Linked DNA regions of Homo sapiens: region 2 is linked to region 1. The links are contacts of gene promoters, found by promoter capture Hi-C in blood cells and fetal thymus (Javierre and others, 2016). All regions are on one chromosome and are shown on one strand. Each heading gives the region's core, a stretch centred on a gene start or on the middle of the fragment in contact. The rest is flanking DNA. Distances are from core to core; before and after follow the strand shown. Region 1 holds the start of TPI1 (triosephosphate isomerase 1). Region 2 overlaps ZNF384 (zinc finger protein 384).

What was found. Contacts are between HindIII fragments. The CHiCAGO score rates a contact against its expected background, and 5 or more counts as called.
Region 2: a contact is called between a fragment that was not itself captured here and the fragment with the promoter of TPI1 in region 1, in 4 of 17 cell types (non-activated CD4 T cells, naive CD4 T cells, total CD4 T cells and 1 more). The highest score is 11.0, in non-activated CD4 T cells.

What each region holds. Positions count from the first base shown.
Region 1 is chr12:6,865,364-6,870,215 of GRCh38, reverse strand. TPI1 (triosephosphate isomerase 1) reads right to left here and starts at 2,685. Exons shown (of 7, transcript NM_000365.6): 1 at 2,535-2,685; 2 at 1,229-1,352; 3 at 1,033-1,117; 4 at 826-958; 5 at 443-528; 6 at 80-167. The coding sequence starts at 2,649. USP5 (ubiquitin specific peptidase 5) reads right to left here. Exons shown (of 20, transcript NM_001098536.2): 20 at 3,584-4,232. The coding sequence ends at 4,139. RefSeq lists silencers at 2,079-2,518, 2,789-2,838 and enhancers at 3,108-3,769, 3,770-4,432. The HindIII fragment of the contact is 21,039 bases long and covers 1-4,852 here.
Region 2 is chr12:6,664,765-6,669,748 of GRCh38, reverse strand. It overlaps ZNF384 (zinc finger protein 384), which reads left to right. Exons shown (of 12, transcript NM_001385745.1): 11 at 560-718; 12 at 1,634-3,272. The coding sequence ends at 2,035. Among named protein-coding and RNA genes, the nearest start is that of ING4, 4.1 kb to the right of the region's middle. The HindIII fragment of the contact is 755 bases long and covers 1,535-2,289 here.

The DNA.
Region 1 (4,852 bases), core at 1,436-3,935:
CCCATCCCCACCTCCATGTCCGAGGGCTCAGTCTAGTCCTCAGCCCACTCCACCTCAGCCGGGAACCAAAGCCACTCACCTCCATAAATGATACGGGTGCTCTGAGCCACCGCATCAGAGACGTTGGACTTCAGCCATCCTCGGAGCTTCTCGTGTACTTCCTGGGCCTAGAACAAGAAGCTGGCCTAAGTAAGACCTTTTCTGCCTCTCTAAGAGGAAAAATCACTGGCACCAGTGGACACTTAGTGTGGTTTCTGACTGAGTCAGAGTACCAGGGCTCTGATCCAAGCCAGGCCCTGGACTGGATGCCCTTGGACAAGTCACTGTCTCTGGGTTCAAGGTCTCTGTGTCTTTGAAATAAGGGGTTGCCCCATGTGGGCTGTGTCTGTCCAAACCTATTGAGGCAGGCTGGGATGAGGGCAGGGCTCCTGGGCCCGGTTACCTGTTGGGGTGTTGCAGTCTTGCCAGTACCAATGGCCCACACAGGCTCATAGGCCAGGACGACCTTGCTCCAGTCCTTCACGTTATCTGCAGGGCAGAGATACAGATGGAGGGAAGGGTGAACAAGAAAGAGCTCTCCAGCCAGGTTCTCCGGAGTACGAAGAACGGTGGCCTACTGCCCCCTAGTGGACATTGGGGGATTTCCAGGTGGCATCTACCTTGGGGCTGGAGAAGTCATAGGCCCCAAGCAAAGATTGTCACTCCCCCTCCCCTTTTTCCTTTTCTGGATCAGCATGGGGACCAAGACAGGCTCCAGGGCCTGACCCTACCCTCTGAGTCTCTGTGGCCCTGGATAGGCTCAAAGGTCCCTTTCTCCAGAGATACCTGCGATGACCTTTGTCTGCTCGAAAACAACCTTCTCAGTGATGCCAGCTTCCCTTTCATCTAGCTTCTCCCCAATGCAGGCGATTACTCCGAGTCCCTCTGCCAGAGCATGGGCCACTTTCTGCCCAATCAGCTGTTGAGAAACAGACTTGGTGAGACATCCTTCTTGGAAAAAGACATCCCTTATCTTCTCTCTTGGCTACTAACCTCATCTGACTCCCCAAAGACATGCCTTCTCTCTGAGTGCCCCAGGACCACCCACGTGGCTCCGCAGTCTTTGATCATGCCAGGGCTAAAGGAAGAGATGAAGCCAAGGTTCAGCAGGGAGCCCACCCTGTGGCTTTCCCCTCAACGAGGAAAGTGAGGGAAGGGTCCCACACACCCCTCTCCACCTCGATCTCACCTGATCTCCCCAGTAAAAGCCCCATTAGTCACTTTGTAGCAGTTCTGCGCAGCCACAGCAATCTTGGGATCTAGCTTCTGCCGGGCGAAGTCGATATAGGCAGTAGGGGGAGCACAAACCACCTCTGAGGACAAGATGGTACCACAGGGGGATGAGACTAAAGAAAGCCTTCATTCCCCACAATTCCTAACCAGTGCCCTGGAGCCCCCCAGCCCTCACCCTCTTCTTCTTGGTTCTGCTCTCCCCCTTTTCACCCCAGCAAGATGACCTTTGTCCATTTTCCAGCCCAGGCTGGGTCTGCACTCAACTCGAAGAGCCTTCCAGATACCCCTGAGAGGCCACGGCCCTCACCCTGCCCTCTGCTCTTTTAACAGCTGGGGCTCCAATTTCCTCGAGCTATTCTCGGCATAGGCACCTCACAGACTCAGCATTCTCCAGGGAGCAACCCTGCTTCCCTTCTAAAATAGCCCATCCTCACCTCCCCTTTGCAAGGCAAGGATTTGTAGCAAAAGGAGAGGGGCCAACTCCTGGGGTTTGTATTGAGGCCTCTGGGGAATGAACGAGAAGGGGATGCCTCTTTGGATCAGGCCCGCGGCTCTCCGATTTCGGTGGAGGGAGGAAGGAGGATGGAGGAGAGCATCCTTTGCCCGTGGGTGGCAGAGACCTAACTGACTCAGAGGCCTTGCGCTTTGCTGTTTCCAGGTTGGGGAAAGCGGTAGGATGGCTCCTCACTCCCAAATCGCTCAGCCTGTTTGGCACGGGCTCGGTCCCTTCCGTGGAAGGCGGGAGTCGTTCAGGTTGCCGAAGGGAAGGGGTCAGATCTGGGGCTCAGGGAGCCCGAGCAGCTCGGCGCGGGGACGCGGACGCCGGCGAGGAAGGGGAGGAGTCTGGGGCTACGTGCGGCGGCGCACGGCGCGGGAGGCCAGGGCGCAGGGAGCGGGAAGCCCACGCGGCCCAGCCTCCCCCGGTCTCCCGCAGAGCCTCGGGCTCCGCTCCTAACCCCGTCGCCTGGCGGGCACAGCCCCAGTGCGCGCCCCGGGGCCACCTTCCTCCAGGAGACCCAAAACGTCCTTACCTGCCCCATAGTCCAAGGGGCATCATGTGCTCCGCCCTGCCCCCTCGACGCACCGACGGGGCTGCGGCTGCGAGGCCCCTGCCCGGACCCCAGCGGCCCTCGTCCCACAGCCCTGCATCAGGTCCGCGCGGATACCGGCCTCGGGGCCTCGGGGCCTCGGGAGAGGGCGCTGCCACTCCTGCCCCGGCCCCGGCCCCGGCCCGGCCAGACCCCTCCTCGGCGAGGGCTTACCGGTGTCGGCCGGCACCTTGGCCGCGTTCAGAGTGCCGATGAGCTCCCCCAGACTCTGCTTCCGCCCGTTCATCTTCCAGTTTCCCCCAACGAAGAACTTCCTGGAGGGCGCCATGGCGCTGGAGCCGAGGCGCTGAAGGTCAGTGTCTGCGCGCAGTCGCGGCCACTGCCCACTTATATAGAGCGCCGCGAAGTGGAACTCCGCCTCCTCGCCGTCCTCCGCCATGGCCCGCCCAGTCCCCCGGAGCCCTGCCCCCCGCCCGCCCTCCTGCCGCCGCCCCGGCCGCCGCCCGATGATGCACTGTTCCGACGTTCCCCCTTCTTGTGGCAACGTTCTAGGAGAGTCGGGGGCTCGGTCGCCTCCGCCTCGATTGCGGGGCTTTCGGGACAAGGCGAGACCTGTGAGCTCCGGCGCTCAGGGGAACCCTCGCTTGGCGACTTGAGTCCCCCACGGGGCCAGAAGTGGTTTTCAAGCGGAACTAGCTGGTGGCAACTTGGCCGTAGCCCAGATCGCCCACTGGGGCAGAGAGGGCCCCTCTCCAACTGTGGGATAGACAACCTCCTTCGCCCATCGGAGCAGCTCATGCCCGACTGCTGAGCAGGCACCCTTGTACCCAGGGAGTCTACCTGAGTGAAAACTTGCGGGACAAATGCAGGGTTCACAGCGGGAGGGGCAGCCCACACAGGCATAGGCCGCCAGGATCATCCCAACCCTCGCCCCGGCTGGCAAGGCCTGGCAGGAACTGCAGGGACTGAGTCCCAGCCTGAAGCCAGCTAGCCAGTTAGGGACATTTGGGAAATCCTCCACTCCTGTGTGAATAAAGAGAGGGAAGGGTTCTTCACTCCATCTTTCCTTGGCTTTGTGTCGGCATTTAGTCACTCTACTCCACCTCCCCACCCAACCCCAATTTTCCTAGAGCTCTAGAACCAGTGAAAAGTGGAGACTTGACTTTGGCAGGGAGGCGGCCAGAGTTAGGAGTTTTCTTAAGCGCCCTCCTGCTAACCCCAGGAAGGTAAGCCTCTCCCCCAAGGTATCAAACAGGACACAATTTAGCCGTTGTACTTTTATTCACATCGTGTATTTTGGCATTTTCCAGAGAAGGACAAGGAAGAGACAGGGTGGGGGAAAGACTGAGGCAGGAGGGCAAGTCGGGGGGTCCCTATTTCCCTCACATCCCTCCTTGACCAACCACACAGGGGCAAACAAAGGGGGAGGGGAGGCACAGGTGATCGCTCCACTGGGAGAGGATGCACAAAGCTACACCCACGCGCACAAACGAGACCCCTCCCTCCACACCAGGGGGCTGGGCGGGGCGACACAGAGAAGCAGAGCACTGTGGATTCCGGGGGCAGGGGAAGCAACAAAGTCTCCTTACAGACAGGTGGCCGGCCCCTCCCGTCCCCGTCCTGCTCCATCCCCAGAGTCTATCGCTGCCCCTCTGCTCTGCCCAGCCATTCTCCCACGGCCTCCAGCTTCTTCCCTGCTGCCGGGGACAAAAGGAAAAAGGGTACAGAGCAGAGGGGCTGAAGTCCATCCCTCAGCCCCTCTCCCTCATGCCAGGTGGTCTTCCCCTGCCCTCATTGGTAAGGGGTGAGGCAGGCTCTTAGCTGGCCACTCTCTGGTAGAAGTAGATGTAGCCCAGGTCCTTGGGCGGCTTCTCGGAGGCACACACTTTCTGGTCATTGTAGATCACCCATCTGGGGAAGTGGGGAAAACAGAAAAGGATGAACAAACTGGGCATTCAAAGTGGCATCATGTAGTCTCTCAGACATGGCCCCTGGAAGTGCTCTCCACACTCTCTGCCCATACCCCAAATCCACAGCCCAGCCACCATGTGCCTTAAGGGAGCTTCACAACCTCACAAGGGTCACGGACCCTATTATGTCTTCAGATCCTCCAGTACCTTTACAACCACCCTCCACCCATTCCAGGGAGGCAGGGGGTTGGTAAACTTTTTCTGGCAAGGGCCAGATAGTATTTGAGGTTCTGCAGGCTCTCTCTCTGGTCTCTGACACAACGACTCAACTTTCCTGCCGCAGCGTGAAAACAGGCACAAACAACACATAAACAAGTGTGTCCAGGTTCCAGTGAAAATTTATTTACAAAGGCAGGGGGCCTGGCCAGGCACGGTAGCTCATGCCTGTAATCCTAGCACTTTGGGAGGCCGAGGCAGAAGGATCACTTGAGCTCAGGAGTTCAAGACCAGCCTGGGCAACATAGTGAGATCCCATCTCTATTTAAAAAAAAAGCTGGTGGCCAGATCCAACCCTTGGGCCAATCACTGCTGCAAGACCTTCTGTCACTCTCTGGCACTTTA
Region 2 (4,984 bases), core at 663-3,162, 200 kb after region 1:
GGGCGGATCACCTGAGCTCAGGAGTTGGAAACCAGCCTGGCCAACACGGTGAAACCTTGTCTCTACTAAAAATACAAAAAAAATTAGCCAGGCCTGGTGGCATGTGCCTGTAGTCCCAGCTACTTGCAGGCTGAGGCAGGAGAATCGCTTGAACCCGGGAAGCGGAGGTTGCAATGAGCCGAGATTGTGCCGCTGCACTCCAACCTGAGCGACAGAGTGAGAGACTTCATCTGGGAAAAAAAAAAAAAAAGAGTTTTGACCCTGTGGGCCCCCTGTGAAGGTCTTAGTGTTCCCTAAAGATCCCCATGCCTCATTTTAAGAACCACTGGACTGGTGAGACGGGCATAAGCTGTCTTGGGATCCTGGTATGTGCTACATGAGGTATGCTTCCACCCTTAGCCTGTAGCTTCTCAAGTTTCATTTGAAACAATTTCTACTTTCTTCAGATAGAGGGAGAAGCTGGGAGGCCTGACACCTACCTTTTTGCTTTCCATCGAGGTCAAGGGGGCAGGAGGAAAGAGTACAATGTATTCATTCTGGTTTCTCCCAATTTTCTCAGTCCCACAGACGGCAACACAACAAAGATAAACCCTTCAAGTGCCACAACTGTCATCGGGCGTACACGGATGCAGCCTCACTAGAGGTGCACCTGTCTACGCACACAGTGAAGCATGCCAAGGTGTACACCTGCACTATCTGCAGTCGGGCATACACATCAGTGAGTGCTCCGTTTCTTCTCTCCTTCCTCATAGTCCTCTAAGAGTACAGTCCACTTCACCCCATTTTCTGGGTAGAGATCTGTTGCAGTGAATACCCTGCCTCCCTAGCTCCAACTTAGCAGAACAGGTAAATATTCAGAAATTAATTAGACCCATTCTGAGGAATTTAGGGGATGCCTGATCTCCTAATCCTATAGAGACGCATAAGCTGTAATTCTTCATTTTACTTAAACATAAGGCAAAATAAAGCCACTTGAAATTTTGAGGGGAGCTGGATTTCAGTTAGGCATTTTCTTCTTCTTTTTTTTTTTTTTTTCTTTTTGAGACACAGTCTCGCCCTGTCACCCAGGCTGGAGTGCAGTGGTGTGATCTCGGCTCGGCTCACTGTAACCTCCACCTCCTGGGTTCAAGCGATTCTCCTGCCTCAGCCTCCCAAGTAGGTGGGATTACAGGTGCATGTTGCCATGCCCAGCAACTTTTTGTATTTTTAGTAGACATGGGGTTTCACCATGTTGCCCAGGCTGGTCTCAAACTCCTGACCTCAAGTGATCCACCTACCTCAGCCTCCCAAAGTACTGGGATTACAGGTGTGAGCCACCGCACCTGGCCCAGTTAGATATTTTCCATGAGACTCCAGAAAAGGTTGTAAAGTTGTTTCATTCAGGGGTCTTTGAAAAAAATAGCAGCTCATTCCTTTGCCAGTTGAATGTTGAGTGACTTCTAAAGGTTCCTCTCTTTTTTTTCTCAGTAGTGAGCCACTGAAAGTGCTACTTGAGTTTTGCTCAGTCTTGGCTCCAGAAAACCAGTATAAAGCTTACTCTGCTTACAGCAGAATCAGAGCCTGGGGTGCTAGTTACAAGTAATCTCTTTTCCTTCCTCTTTATCCCTCAACTTCTTTTTACCATCTCCCTCAGGAAACATACCTTATGAAACATATGCGCAAACACAACCCGCCTGATCTTCAGCAACAGGTGCAGGCAGCAGCAGCAGCGGCAGCAGTGGCCCAGGCCCAGGCTCAAGCTCAAGCCCAGGCTCAGGCTCAGGCTCAAGCCCAGGCCCAGGCCCAGGCCTCCCAGGCATCACAGCAGCAGCAGCAGCAGCAGCAGCAGCAGCAGCAGCAGCAGCAACAGCCACCACCACACTTCCAGTCTCCTGGGGCAGCCCCCCAGGGTGGGGGTGGTGGGGACAGCAATCCCAACCCTCCACCCCAGTGTTCCTTTGACCTGACCCCGTATAAGACGGCGGAGCATCATAAGGACATCTGCCTCACTGTCACCACCAGCACCATCCAGGTGGAGCACCTGGCCAGCTCTTAGAGATCCGTGCTGCCACCCACTGGGAAGAGGAAGAAGTAGTCCTGGTGTCTTCTTTCTCCAACTCTTGGTGGGAAAAGTCCTTTTCTTCCTTGACAGGCCTTGGCTCCATCTCCTTGGGCCTCTGTCACGGCTTTCCTTCACAGGATACCATCCTTTTTCTGAACTCTTCTTCAAAAGGAACATCAGCCCTCCTGATTGCAAAGGAATACTGAGCTGATGGTGTCATCCAGCAGCCTCCCCTCCCAAGCAAAGCTTCTAAAACTGGGGGTCGGTGCTCAAGGGAAGGATTTGCTATGACCTCATAGAACCTTGTCCAGTGTGGCCACTTACCCTATCCTTACCCTCCTTATCCTCAAAGTTTGGGCTGATGTAAGACTAGAGGCTGGCCCTCCCAGATAACAGAGAAAAGGGAGCCCCAAATGCAACCAGCCTCTTGTTCTATTCTTGCCTGCAAAAGAACAGAGGTTTCTCAAATGCCTCAGTCCCTGAGAGCCATTTCTTCCCCTACATCGTCTCACTTTGCTTCCTATTGACTGCTGGTAGAAGGAGATTTGGGGTAGGGGCTAGACCTCCTTTTATTTGAAGGGGGCAAGGGCTGAGATGTGGTCCCCAAGGGGCCAGAAATTCCCAAGTTGGTCACAGGTGGCTTAGAAGTGTGTGTTATGGTTTTACGGATTTCCTTGAAGCCTCTCTCCTTCTCTGCCTACAAAGACCCTATACTCTCAGTCTCCCCAACCCACCCCCAAGGAGCTGTGGGAGGCTTTGTGTTATCTGTGAAACTCCAAAACAGGGGTGTTGCGGAGAAGGGAGAGTTCAAGGCAAACGCAAGGACTGGACTTAGCTCCCTAGGTGCCACAGTCAGATGCCGGACACGGATTTATATATAAATATATATATATAAATATATTATACTCACTCATCACGGCCATCTTTGTTGTAACCATTTCTGTGTTTATAAATGCATTATCTCTGAGAATTTTCATATTTGATGTTTTGTTTATTTTTGTCCTTTTTTTCCCTCTCTCCACCCCTGTCCTCTAGCCACAGCATTTTTCTTTTTGTCTTTTTTTTTTTTTTTTAAATCATGGCAGATTTCAGAGGAAAGGAAATTAAAAAAAAAATCAGGAAACCAGTTGTTATAAAGTAATTTAAAAATGAAGAAAAAAAGAAAAAAACTTATGTACAAACCAAGGGGTGTTTTTAGAACATTGTATAGAAATAAATTCATGTAAAAGGATCAGAGGCAGTGGAGCTACTGATGTGAGCGAGCATGCGGAAAAGGTATTTGGGGAGATGTCCAAGAACAGTACTGAGGATTTATACCAGAGTGTGTGTGTGATGAACAAGTGCTTGTGTGATGATGCCCCATTTGTGCAATTCTCCAGTCATGGAAGGGTACAGTTTCATGATGTCTCCAGTGAAATCCTGGTTTATGAGGACTTCTACATACACATTCTGTCATGGGGATTGCATTGCCTAAATATGTGAGAGCAAGGCTTTGGTTATGTGTTAACAAAACAGCTAAGCTCCCTATGGAAGAAAAATGGAAGCCTCTTGAAAGGACCTACACTCCTGCCTGAGTCTGTGGAAGAGGGGCTTGCAGTTGGCAATGTGTATACATATGTGTATTTGTTACCTTGTGGAAATCATAACCGGTTAAGGGGTGCAAGATTGATTTATGCAGGAGAGCTGTAGTACTATGGAGTAGAATGTGGTCATGAAACCTGGACTTCAGCCCTTTGCCTACCATCAACCAGTGTTGGCCAGGGTGCTTCTTCAACTGTTAGTGAAGGGATTGGACTAGATAACTCTGAAGATACCTTTTTTGAGAATTAAGTAACTTGCTTTAAGGCTGGGTGCGGTGGCTCACGCCTGTAATCCCAGCATTTTGGGAGGGCGAGGCAGGCAGACTACTTGACGTCAGGAGTTCAAGACCAGCCTGGCCAACATGGTGAAACCCCATCTCTACTAAAAATACAAAAATTGATGGCCGTGCACGGTGGCTCACGCCTGTAATCCCAGCACTTTGGGAGGCCGAGACAGGTGAATCATGAGGTTAGGAGCTCGAGACCAGCCTGGCCAGTATGGTGAAACCCCGTCTCTACTGAAAATACAAAAAATAAGCTAGGCATAGTGGTGGGCGCCTGCAATCCCAGCTACTCAGGAGGCTGAGGCAGGAGAATCTTTTGAACCTAGGAGGCAGAGGTTGCAGTGAGCCAAGATCGTGCCATGGCACTCCAGCCTGGGCGACAGAGTGAGACTCTCTCTCAAAAAAGTAAAATAAAAATACAAAAATTAGCCAGGTGTGGTGGCACGCGCCTGTAGTCCCAGCTGCAGGCTGAGGCAGAAGAATGACTTGAACCTGGGAGGCGGAGGTTGCAGTGAGCCGGGATTGCACCACTGCACTCCAGCCTGGGCCACAGAGCGAGATTCTGTCTGGAAAAAAAAAAAAAAACAAAAAAAAAAAAACCTTGCTTTAAGCACCGAAAAAGTTGTGAAAGTTGTGACCAAGCTCCCACATCCTGAGAACTCTGGGACTGCTGGCCAATAGTACTTGTTATGTAGTTGGGCTGGGATAAATAAAGCCCACTTAATTTAGTGCTAGATATCCTGTGTGGGCACCTAAGATGGTGTCTCAATATGTTGTGTAATACCAATGAATGTATCACATATGACCAAATATGCCAATGTTTCTTAGCTCCCTGCATATTTACTGCTTTTTCCTCCCACTCTCACCAACTCTTGAAAAGGCCCTAATGGCCCTAACTTCATCACCAGTATTAGAACTAGAATCTACTCTTTTTATGGATACACTCACACTCACTTATTCCAACAACCCTATGAGGGAGGTAGTAGTCTCATTGTATAGTAAAACAGGCACAGAGATCAAGTTACCGAAAAGCATGACTTTTGTAATTAGAGCAGTTTCCCGGATTCTATTGCTGTATC